Regions from separate parts of the Homo sapiens genome. Here all the other regions are linked to region 2. Evidence: promoter capture Hi-C in 16 types of primary human blood cells and fetal thymus (Javierre and others, 2016). All regions are on one chromosome and are shown on one strand. Each heading gives the region's core, a stretch centred on a gene start or on the middle of the fragment in contact. The rest is flanking DNA. Distances are from core to core; before and after follow the strand shown.

Region 1 (3,018 bases), core at 32-2,531, 610 kb before region 2:
CATTACATCTTTTCACTTAAATAGTCAAAAGCTTGCTTTCATCTATGTCATCACTTTGTCCCTGGTTTCACCAACCTGTGAATGCAAAATAAGCCATGTTTACAATTAGGCCTAACTTATAAGGGCCTCAAGCCTCCACTACTTCTGGTAAGAATTTCAGTCTTTTCCAGAATAATTCACTCCAAATATTTAAGAACTTCCTCAGAGTGTCTTGCGTGTATCAGTGAACTAATCTTTACTGCAGTCCCTTGCAGTGGCTGCAGAAATCCAGACAAGGCCCTGTCTACCTGATACCCCAATCATCAGCCTGCTCTGCCAACATTCTATGGCAGGTGGAGCTAGAAGCCCACTATTGCTGAGTGCCAGGCTGAAAATTCCCACACTCCAGCCATGTGGCTATGACCAAGCCATCCATCTGCTGACCCTCTGCCTTGCTGTCAGCACTGTCACCACCTCCACCAACACAGAGCCATCCCCCTCATATACCCCAGTGATGCAGGAGACACCCTACCCATTCAGCCCACCAGGCCATGCTGGGCTTACACACCAGCTCAGCCTGCATACCTCAGCCCACTTTGTTGTAACTCATACCCACACTGGGTGGTTTCTAAGCTCTTGTCCCTCATCCAAGAAGAATGAAAATAGGCTGACAACTGAAGGGTGAGGAAGGCAGACAATAATTTTATTGAGCAATGAAACAGCCCTCAGAGGAGAGGGGACACTAGGGTGGTCAACCACGGGTGGTTTTTCTCTGTTAGTGTGGCTGAGTCCAGGGCTTTTATGGGCTCAGAATAGGGGAGTGAGTGCTGATTGGTTTGTGAATATGCAAAAATGGTTAAAACAAAGGCACCACTCAAAGGTGGGCACAACAGCGGAAAAAACCAATTAGGGAAGGGTAGGCATATGTAAAATAGGTGAAGGATGGGGATCAATCAGAGGAAAACATGCAAAACCAGAAGACAGGTTCTCAATCTGGTCCATGGATTTAGCTTGTAGCTAGGCTTTTAGGCTTTAAAGTGTCTTTGGTTTGGAGATGGGGTTTCACCAGGGACCCACCCCTGTCTGCCTAGGATTTGTCTGCCTCCTGCCACTATGACCAGGAGAGATCTCTGACAATTTGCCCAGGCTGGTGTGGCTTCTTGTGGTAGGAGTGTAGGTGTTCCTTCTTGTGATTGTCTTCAGGTATGACCTACAGCAACACTGCCTGAGCCCAGGCATTACAGTGTTTCAGTTGAATAGCACAGCTCTTTCAATTGTCATGTTTGCAACCATTTACCCCAAAGCTCTCTCATGGCAACAGGTGGCTGCTGCAGCAGTGTTGCTAGTATCTTTCTGAAGATCAGCACCTCACAGCAAAGATGCAAACCCTGGTATTGAGTTCAGCTTACCTCTTCAAGCTCATCCTCTCTATGGTGAAGTTCTTACCCAAAGCCCTATTACCCTCTCCCTCAAACTTTGATCTGGGACACTGAAGGCCATCAGTCATGATTTTATGTTTTCACTTCTCCTTTTTGGGACCAGGGTTGTACCCCTCCATTCCCATGTACATTTGTGGAGGGACAAGGTTACATAAAGCCACAAAAACACATGGCTAGGTTGGAGGAGAGAGACTTTTTTGGCATCTGAGCCCCAGACCCTGAATTAGGCCATATTATTCTGTTATGAAAACAAATTGTATCAGATTCTTCTTGTGCCCATTCAGACAATGGTTATCAAGTGTCTATTACAATTCACTTATTCATTTATTTATCTAGCACCTATTGAACACCTACCATCTGACCATGTGCCAGGCACTGTGCTAGGCTTTGGAAACACAAAGATGAGTAAAACAAGGTTCTTTAACTCGACAAACAGTCTATGTGAAAGACATCTGTATAAATTACTTACAATGTAATGTTATCTTTAGGGCTGTGAGGAACAGAAGAGCAGAGGATTCCTTCTGTCTGGCAGAGTCAAAGTAAACTTCTCAAAGTCAATGATATTGAGGCTTGGTATTAAGGAATGAATAGGACTACCTTAGGAAGAGAAGTGTAAGGAATTTCAGAGAGTCAGGAATGAGCATTGGCCCTGGGGCATGGAAGTTCCTTGCTAACTTAGAGAAGCACTAGAATTAGATGTGGCTGGAGCACATGGCTGAGGAGAGACTGGAATAGCATGAATGAAGCTGGTTAGTTGCACTGGAACAGCTCACAAAGAGCCTTCCCTTGTAAGAACGTAATTTTGTTCGATTTCAAAAACATTTATTAAACACCTACTAGGTTTCTGGCATTCCGTTCTTTGGGCACTAGGGGTGAAAAGATTACTAAAGCATGGCCCCTATCTTTGAGGGGGTTAAGTCATCTGAAAAGAAAAAGTTATGCAGATCATTTCAATTTGATGTTAGGACAGGGCTAAATACAGGATGCCCTGGGGCACCCAACCTGAGGGGAGAAGGGGTGGGGCTTGTCTGGACCAGGTTTCCTGGAAGCATTACTACCAAAGTTTAATCTTGAAGGATAATCTTCCAGCAAAGAAAAGGGAGAAAAAGCTTTCCAGGCAGATAGAACAAAGAACAAAGACATCATTTATTGTTTTCCTTTATTTTGAAGGAGGACATGATAAGAAGCAGCTCAGTACTGCTGAAATATGAAATGAAAGGCTGGAGATGGCAGGAGGTAAGAATGGGGAGACAGGTAAGAGCTAGAATATTTGAGGTTCTGATACACCAGGCTGAGATCATTAGATTGAGTCTTGGAGGAAATGGAGAGCTATGGAAATGTCTCAGTCAGGGGAGTGATGTAATCAATTCTGCATTTTAGATATGTCATTCCAGTGCAGTGGGAAACAGGACAAATCTGGGGGCAAGGAGACTTGGCTATAGCAATATTCAGGCAAGAAATGCTGAATTCTTGAAGGAGGGGGTGGAGGGAGGAGATTACTTCATCTATGACTTGTTTGCCTAGATATCTTCTATTGAGCTAATTTCTAAATGACACTATTATGTTAAATGTGGCACTTCAGGTTCATGGCTGATGCTAG
Region 2 (2,913 bases), core at 382-2,881:
TCACCACAACCTCCGTCTCCTGAGTTCAAGCGATTCTCCTGCTTCAGCCTCCTGAGTAGCTGGGATTACAGGCATGCACCACCACACCTGGCTAATTTTTGTATTTTTAGTAGAGACAGGGTTTTACCATGTTGGTCAGGCTGGTCTCAAACTGCTGACCTCAGGTGATCTGCCCGCCTCGGCCTCCCAAAGTGCTGGGATTACAGGCGTGAGCCAAGGCACCCAGCCCTAATTTTTGTATTTTTAGTAGAGACAGGGTTTCACCATGTTGGCCAGACTGGTCTCCAACTCCTTATCTCGTGATCTGCCTGCCTTGCCTTGAGCCACTGCGCCCAGCCCACAAGTGCACTTTTAATGTTATGGACTCTACTATTTTTTATGACTTCCAGAATATGCTATAACTTACACCCCATAGTTTAATATTCCCAATTGAACATTTTCTTCCAATATCTGTATTAAGAAAACTGCAAGGGGTGTCTTTGTCACACTTAGTGAGGATTTCCGCAGGCTAGAGTCCTACAAGGGGAATTGCTGGGGCAGAATGTTAACTAGTTAGGTATGAGCAGAACAGGAGAGCGCTCCCCACCCCACACATACCAGGACTATTGGGTGACAATCAAACGATGGTCAGGCGGTTCTTAACTGTTTCTCTAACGTTCACCGGGGCCAGCGAAAGGCAGTCTCCTAATAGAAAACACCTGAAACTGATCAGTAGCTTCCCAGTAAGATCTCAGGAGTGGGGAGAAGCAATGCAAGTTCCCCAAAGTATGCCAACATATAAAACTTCAAGTCAACAGGTCAAGCTGCGCACTTGGTTTCTCAAGTCGCCTGCTTGGCAGTCTTCCAAGTTGTACTTTCCTCCTTTTCTTTCCGTCCCGTTCTAAAGCTTTTTGATAAACTTTTACTTCTATTCTGAAACTTGTCTAGGTCTATCCTGCCTTATGCCCTTCGTGGAATTATTTCTTCTGAGGAGGCAAGAACTAAGGTTACTGCTGACCCCTACCTATACAGGGGGTAACTGCCACCGCTAACAAGAAGGGGAGAATCAGCTTTTCTTTCTTTTTTTGAGACAGTAAAAGTCTGCTGTGTCGCGCGGCTGGAGTGCAGCTGCACGATCTCGGCTTACTGTAACCTCCGTCTCCCGGGTTCAAGCGATTCTCCTGCCTCAGCCTCCCGAGTAGCTGGGACTACAGGCGCGCGCCACCACGCCCGGCTAATTTTTGTATTTTTAGTAGAGAAGGGGGTTTCACCATGTTGCCCAGGCTGGTCTCGAACTGCTAACCTCAAGTGATCTGCCCTCCTCGGCCTCCCAAAATGCTGGGATAAAGACATGCGCCACCGCGCCCGGCCGAGAATCAGCTTTTCTCTCACATCTGATCTTTCCGTGTGTTAAGGCAGAAGCAAGGCACGGTGGGCTGAGACTCACACGCCCCCTCTTTCCTCCCCGGCCTAACGCACTCTTCTTTCTGTCCCACCACGTGCTGTGTTCGCGAGTCCCCATCACTCCTGCATCCAAACCGACTAGATTTTTGTTTCCATTTCCCTCCCGGAAAAGGCGGGACAGCGAAGACTGGCGTTTCCGCCGCTGAGGGGCTGAGGCCGGGAGGGCGCAGCGTAGCCGTCCCGAGCTGATGACGTCAAACGCCGTGTGCTCACCCACGTGTGGTGCCCCTCTCCCGGTGTAGGCGCTGGAGCTGAGGACGCCTTTCCTGCGGGCGTAGTTGCTGGCTGCTCGGGCACTGGGACCTCGGCGGCTTGGGGACGCTGGCCGCGAAGTAGGGAGCGCAGGTGGCCGCTCGGGGTGAGGGCCCTGGGTCATGGAGCACTTCTTGCTGGAGGTGGCAGCCGCGCCGCTGCGGTTAATCGCAGCCAAGAACGAGAAGAGCCGCAGTGAGTTGGGCAGGTTCTTGGCCAAGCAGGTAAGACGTGAAGGGAGAGGGAAAGCGCCGGAACGACTGGGTCGCCCCACTAGTAAGCTTCCTGCGCTCCCCCGCCGATACTCGCCGCTTTAAGTGGGGAGTGGTGCAGCCTCAGGTCAAGCTGGCCCCCTCCTGTGGGCTGGCGCAGGTCGTGGAGGTTTCCGAGCGTGTTTGAGGCGATTGGAAGGAGTCTTTTGTTTTTATCTGGGGGAGCCTTCCAGTACCCTTCCCATCGCCTCTCACCCCTATGCAAGCGCTTTGGCTGCTTGTGGCAGAGGTGGCCTTCCCAAAGGAATGTGGTTTGTTTTTCTGAAATTGAGGTTGCGTTTCTGCCGTTTTGACAAGTGTACGTATCACCTAAGTGTGCGTAGTGCAGCCACTCCTGTTAGTTTGGGGAACCATCGACAAATACTGATTGCATTCCTGCTGTGCGTAAGGAACGGTGTGGCGCTGTGAGAAAGTGGATAGATAAATTCGTTACGATCTCTGCCATGAGGGAAATTTGCATCTGTTTTTGGAGACAGTTCGTAAACACTTACAACAGCTGAAGTACAGAGCAAGACAGCTCATACTCACTGTAACTAACTATACAAATTATAAGGTTAATTAGAGTTTTCTGGGAAATAGGTCTTCGGGCTTTTAAGAACCTTCTCATTGACTCCTTCTATCTGAGTTGAAGACACTTTTTTTTTTTTTTTGAGACGGAGTCTCGCTGTGTCGCCAGGCTGGAGTGCAGTGGCGCGATCTCGGCTTACTGCACCCTCCGCCTCCCGGGTTCAGGCGATTCTCCTGCCTCACCCTCTCAGTAGCTGGGATTACAGGCGAGCGCCACCATGCCTAGCTACTTTTTGTATTTTTAGTAGAGACGGGGTTTCACCATGTTGGCCAGGATGGTCTCGATCTCTTGACCTCGTGATCCACCCGCCTCAGCCTCCCAAAGTGCTGGGATTACAGGCGTGAGCCACGGGACAGGTGAGTGTGGTCCCAGGTACTT
Region 3 (3,115 bases), core at 306-2,805, 580 kb before region 2:
TTGCACTTTCTGTGCCAGCTCCTGACTTCACTTGCATCGTCATTTATTTTCCCTTTTTCATACCTCAGTGGAATAAATCTGAAAGATGTTTAGAGCTAAATTTTCACCAGCAGGTCTTCAGAAATGAATACAGGGATGAGGAATTTCATTCATTTATCCTTGCATTGGCTAAGCAAACATTTAATGAGTGCCTGTTGTATCCAGGTACTGTGCTTGGTGGTAGAGGGATTCTCAGATTTGTTTTCTAAGGTGAAAGAATTGGGATTTGGAGTCACTGATATTTTCCATGCTCATCACAAGGGAGAGGGGAGCTATAATATGTGGACATCATAATGAGATAAACTGGAAGTAATCAGCCTAGAAGACACTGTCTGGTTCCTGGAAGGTGAAGATTGAGATGCAGGTTCATAGGTGGGAAGCTCTGCCTTAGATCTGGGCTTTTGCGTTATTTCCATTAATGAGGCATAAGGTGGAAAGGTGGTGCCTCGCATCTGGGTCTGACAATCTTCTCAAATGCCCTAGAAGAAAGTCTTCCCTCCTATGGCCATTTCTCTTTCTCTTTTCTTTTGTTTGGAGAGCTTGTCAGAAAGAAGATTATACAGAGAAATACTGTTGATCATTGGGTCTCCTATGTCATGAAGGTAAATGATTGAGGATTTATTTTCCCTGCAGTTAGGAACCCCAAGCCAAGTCTGTAGGAGTCCTTTAAAGGATAGGGATTCAGACCCAAGTTTGTGTTTCTCCTAATGATACAAGATTGTTTTGAAAACTGACTGAAATGGATATTCCCGAACTCTTTGTCCTCCTTGCTAGAAAAGTCTACGTCTTCTTTGGCTGGTAAGACTAGGAAAGCAGCTCTCGTAGAGAGTTTGCAGATCATGAAATAACACAGCTACAGGGCTTTTCCAACTGGAGCCTAGAGGTTCCTGAGGTTCAGGGGCTTCTGGAAACATATACTTCCGACCTCTCTCCTGCTTCGCTTAACCAGAGAAGGTTCATGCTTAATATTCTTATATATATTAGTTTTCCTTTCTTAAGAGATCGCATCTAAAGAAAGGGTTTCTATACTGAGAGCTAGAGAGGAGAGAAAGAAGGAAGGTAGGAAGGCAGGAAGGCAGGAAGGAAAGAAGGAAGGTCCAAATCACATATTTAACAGAGGAGGAGACCAAGGCCCAGGAAGGCACAAGACTTACCAGGCTCATACAGCTTCCCAGAGCTAGCACTGGAGTGCAGGTGGACATCCTGCAGGGAACTTCCTGGATGCCAAGGCCTTTGAGTACTTTCACATATTTTTAGAGGGCATTTAATATGCTGAGTGTTATTTACTTTTAATTTAGCAAGTTCCAAAATGAACTTCTGTTGGGCCTCTACTGCTTTTGCTCTCTTCAATAGATTGTTGAGGGACAAAGCTCTATCTAAATGTCCCTATCTAACTGAAGAGAAAGACAATCCTGTTATGTTGAAGCTTAGAGGCTGTGATGAGCACCGCTTGTCACGCCCTTGTGGTGTCCTTGTTTGGAGAGGGGTGTTTGTAGAAGCAAGAGCATGAGAGAGGCAGTACAGTTTGCACTGATACAAACCCCCCTCCTCCACAATATATTAGAAGAAGAGAACCTCTGTGATGGGAGAGGAGGCAGAAGCTTGGACTAAGCCAACATCTATAATGAGAATGTCTCATTGAAACAAACTCTTTCCTTTTCAACACTACCTTGGTAGTCAACTTTTCCGTTGTTGCCCAGCTTTATCTTCCTGTCAGCATAAAAAATACCATCATAAGGTGAAATGTGTATGATATTCCCATAAATGCATACTGTCAGGAAGTTTCACTGCCATAAACTTGCCCTATCATTCCTCCCATTTCCTCCAGCTCTGTGCTTATATTCTGGTGCCTGGCAACCCTGTGCCTGCTGCAGTCACACACACAGGGGCAGGCAAGAGGTGAGAGCCTTGGGGAATCCCCTGCAAAAGGGCAGATCTGCCAAGGGCCGTTATCAGATGAGGGTGAGGGGTGTGAGGTGACTCAGACACTGTGAAAAGGCATTATTCATCTAGAACCCTACTTTCCTTTATGGTTCAGAAAACGTGCTCTTGAAATGCTATGTCTAAACAAAGTTCTGCAAATCAGGTCCTGTGTTACGTGGGTTGGAGAATCTTGCTACTCAAATGATTTCCTACAAAGCACCCTCTATCTACGAGACTTCATCCATTTGTTTGTTTATTTGTCCACTCAACAAATACATATTTATTCGGGACTTTGAGCAGGGCACTGGCTCAGGCATTGGGAATATGGGGGAAAATAAGATATGTCCCTGGGCTTATGAGCTTCAGATCATTACACAACTACTACAAGAGAGAAATCCAGAGGTTCTCATTGATCTTTTGCAAAATTGGATCTTCAAATGTAATTGCTTACAGCAGATTAGTAACTAAATAGAATTAGGTCCCTGGGTCAGCTTCCTCTCCTTCCTAGGCTCCTGTCAGCTGATTCTTCCAGAGCAGAATCTCCCACCTCTTCCTTCCAAAGTTGTAGTTTTAGTTTTACTTTGATCCAAGTTTTCTGTTGCTGCCTATTTGAAGTACAATGTGATCTGTTGAGCTTGGATCACAAACACATCTGGGAAAATTACTCTTTGAAGAAACAGCAGGAGATAAGAGCACCTAGTTTGAGCGAAAAGATCATTAGCAACGTCTCATTAACAAATATGTCTCTGCCTGTTTAGGGTCAGGTATCTAAAATCAGGTAGACAGAGCAATTAGCAGGAGGGAGGAGGAAAGATCAAACACTGAGGTTGATCCAACTGCTACTGCTGTTGCTGTCTGATCTCTCAGCAGCAGAAACAAACCCCAGGGCTGGATAAGATACCATGCCTGGAGGAGACCAAACAAACACTTGGTGCAAGTTGATTATATCAGATCCCGTCCACCTAGGACAAGAGCTGGGGCAGTAATTTGTCCTTATTAAGATTGATATACGTTCTGGGCCTGGATTTTACCTCCCCTGCCCACCATGCCTGGGCCAGGCCCACCATCTGAGTGCTCTCAGAGCTTCTGACTTGTTCACATCACTCATAACATTGCTTCAGACCCAGGGACCCACTCTATGGCAAGGGAGTGC
Region 4 (2,921 bases), core at 277-2,776, 630 kb before region 2:
TCCTTTTTTCTCCTACCCAGCAACACACTCTCCTGGTTCTGCTTCCCCCTTGCTAATTGCCTCTTGTCCAGCACTTTTGCCAAATTTGCTTCATTTTCCTGACTTCTGATTCTTCAAGTAGCTCAGGATTTGTGCTCTGACCTCTTCTTCGTCTGCACTCATTAGTCTCACTCAGTGTCGTGGCTTTAAATATTATGTATATACCCATCACTCCCTCTCCCTCGCACCAGCTATTTGAACTCCTTGGCACTGCCACATGGATGTTAAGCAAGTATCTGAAACTTGTGCCCAATCAAAATTTTTGATTTTCCCTCCCAAAGTTCCTCCACCAGTCTTCTCTATCTCGATATATGGCACCATCATGGTACCACCAACTGGAGCCATTAAATGGTACCATTTGCTTATGACAAAAAATCTAGAAATTATCCTTGATAACTTTCTTTGCATCACCCTCACATCCAAACCATTGACAAAACTCTCAAGTTCACCTTAAAACATAGGCTGAATCTATCCATTTATCTCCATCCTCTGCCAACACACATTGGTAGAAGCCATTATTACCTCTCCTGTGGCATACTTCAACAACCTACTAACTGATTTCCTTGCTTCATTTTTACTTTCCTATGATCTCTTTTTAACATAATAAATGGAAGAAAGGAAAGCTCTTCCTTATAGTTGAATTCCAAATAATAAACATAGAAGTGATGTATTTAGAAATTCATCAATGGGTGCTAAAACTAGTAAAAGTTTGATGAGCAATAGGATATTTACATAGTCTCAAAGAAACTCCTCAGGAATGACTTATTAATTACAAAGGGAAAATTAGTCACTTTAAAGAGGACAGACTTGGGGAACATGGCCTTAAGCAAGTGATCAAAGCTAACATCACCAGTATTGGGACAAACAATACTCACAGGTCCACATGGCTGGGGAGGCCTCAGAAACTTACAATCATGGCAGAAGGCACCTCTTCACAGGGTGGCAGGGGAGAGAATGAGAGCCAGCAGGGGAAATGCAAGATGCTTATAAAACCATCGATCTCGTGAGAACTCACTCACTATCACGAGAACGGCATGGGGGAAATAACCCCCATGATTCAATTACCTCCACCTGGTCCCACCCTTCACATGTGGGAATTATTACAATTCAGGGTGAGATTTGGGTAGGGACACAGAGCCAAACCATTTCACTGTTCTTGCAAATTTCTTGTAAGTTTGAAATCATATCAAAATGAAAAGTTTCCAAAACACTATACTCATCTGGCCATGTGATTTTTCTGCTTTCTGCCCCTCAGTAGCTTCCTAACTTCTTTATAGTAAAACTCAATGCCTTGCCATGGCTTACATAGCCCTCTGTGATCTGGCCCCTGCCCGCTGCTCATGTCATGCTGTATCATTCTTTCTCAGCCTCCTAAACCAGGTGTCGACAAAAAGAGTCAAACTCTGTAAAATATTTGAAGAGATTTATTTTGAGTCAAATATGAGAGACCATGGCCCATGGCACAGCCCTCAAGAGATCCTGAGAACATGTACCCAAGGTGGTCAGGGCACAGCCTAGTTTTATACACTACAGGGAGACATGAGACATCAATCAAATACATGTAAGATATACATTGGTTTGGTCTGGAAAGGCCTGTAAGGAGAAGGAGGGCTTCCAGATTATAGGAAGATCTGAAAATTTTCTGATTGGCAATTGGTCAAAAGCGTTACTATCAATAGAAAGTAATGTCTGTGTTATGATAAGGGGTTGTGGAGATCAAAGTTTTATCATGCAGATGAAGACTCCAAGTAGCAGGCCTCAGAGAGCACAGGTTGTAAATGTTTCTAATTAGACTTAAGGTCTGTGTTGATGTTGAATGCTGGTCAGCTTTTTCTAAATTTCAAAAGTGGGGAGGGTATAATGAGGCATGTCCCACCCCCTCTTCTTGTCGTGGCCTGAACCAGTTTTTCAGGTTAATTTTGTAGTGTCCTGGCCAAGAGGAGGGGTCCATTCAGATGGCTGGGGGACCTTAGAATTTTATTTTTGGTTTACACAAGCCAGTGTCTTTCTGTCCCTGAAATATACCAACCTCTCTCACCTTAGTGCCTGAGAGCTGTTTCTCTGCCTGGAATGCTCTTCCCCTCAACTTTGTAGATTTGGTTCTTCCTTGACATTCAGACATCAGCTTCAAGGTCACCTCCTTAAAGAGGCCTTCCTTAGCCACACCCCCTCACTCTCTCTCATCCTACCTTAAAGTGGCTTCCATGTAGAGCACTTATCACTCTATGTTTTCTTTATTTACTGATTCGCTTATTATCTTCCCCACCGTGGACCATAAAACCACGATAACAAGCATTTTGTCATATTCATGGCTGCACCTTTCGTGCCTAGAATAGTGCTAGTCCCTACTACATGCTCAATAAATAAGTGCTGAATGCAGCTCGTGTTTTCTATGCATTTTGGTAATGCTAATAAATGACAATAAAATTCTAAGCCCCTCCCACTGATTGAATGGGTCTTCCTCTCAGCCAAGGGGACACAATGAAACCTGAGAATCTAGTTCAGGTCATGATGGAAAGGTGGGGGGCAGAGATGGGGCTGGAGTCTGTCTGACTGAACAGACTCTCTGTAGCCATAAGACACCAAATTTCAACCTCACTATTATACCATCACATGACAGATAGCAGGGCCCTGAAAGAAACTGAAGTTTTTTGACCCTAAAATATGCTTACTTGACACGTTTTGAAATGGCCCTGCAAAGCTGTTTCTTGTGGGGGGAAGTTAGCATTCTGTAGAGAATCTGCTTCCTTTACCAGGTCTCTCCAAACAGTCTGATACCTTTGGTAAGAGACATTCACATCTATTCTCTCTGAAGCCTGGAGGCTTGTCTACATGATAAAAACCTTGGCTTCCACAACCACCACCCCCCAACCCTTACCTCA

Evidence for each region. Contacts are between HindIII fragments. The CHiCAGO score rates a contact against its expected background, and 5 or more counts as called.
Region 1: a fragment that was not itself captured here is called in contact with the fragment with the promoter of MDN1 in region 2 in 2 of 17 cell types (activated CD4 T cells and naive CD4 T cells); the score reaches 7.0 in activated CD4 T cells.
Region 3: a contact is called between a fragment that was not itself captured here and the fragment with the promoter of MDN1 in region 2, in 2 of 17 cell types (naive CD8 T cells and total CD8 T cells). The highest score is 7.7, in naive CD8 T cells.
Region 4: a fragment that was not itself captured here is called in contact with the fragment with the promoter of MDN1 in region 2 in 3 of 17 cell types (total CD8 T cells, naive CD8 T cells and activated CD4 T cells); the score reaches 6.4 in total CD8 T cells.

The regions. Positions count from the first base shown.
Region 1 is chr6:90,431,631-90,434,648 of GRCh38, reverse strand. No RefSeq gene overlaps it. Among named protein-coding and RNA genes, the nearest start is that of MIR4464, 120 kb to the right of the region's middle. The HindIII fragment of the contact is 2,496 bases long and covers 34-2,529 here.
Region 2 is chr6:89,818,512-89,821,424 of GRCh38, reverse strand. MDN1 (midasin AAA ATPase 1) reads left to right here and starts at 1,631. Exons shown (of 102, transcript NM_014611.3): 1 at 1,631-1,919. The coding sequence starts at 1,818. RefSeq lists enhancers at 694-1,313, 1,314-1,933, 1,588-1,977, 2,554-2,913. The HindIII fragment of the contact is 1,090 bases long and covers 889-1,978 here.
Region 3 is chr6:90,396,943-90,400,057 of GRCh38, reverse strand. No RefSeq gene overlaps it. Among named protein-coding and RNA genes, the nearest start is that of MIR4464, 86 kb to the right of the region's middle. The HindIII fragment of the contact is 175 bases long and covers 1,468-1,642 here.
Region 4 is chr6:90,450,385-90,453,305 of GRCh38, reverse strand. No RefSeq gene overlaps it. Among named protein-coding and RNA genes, the nearest start is that of MAP3K7, 140 kb to the left of the region's middle. The HindIII fragment of the contact is 8,218 bases long and covers 1-2,921 here.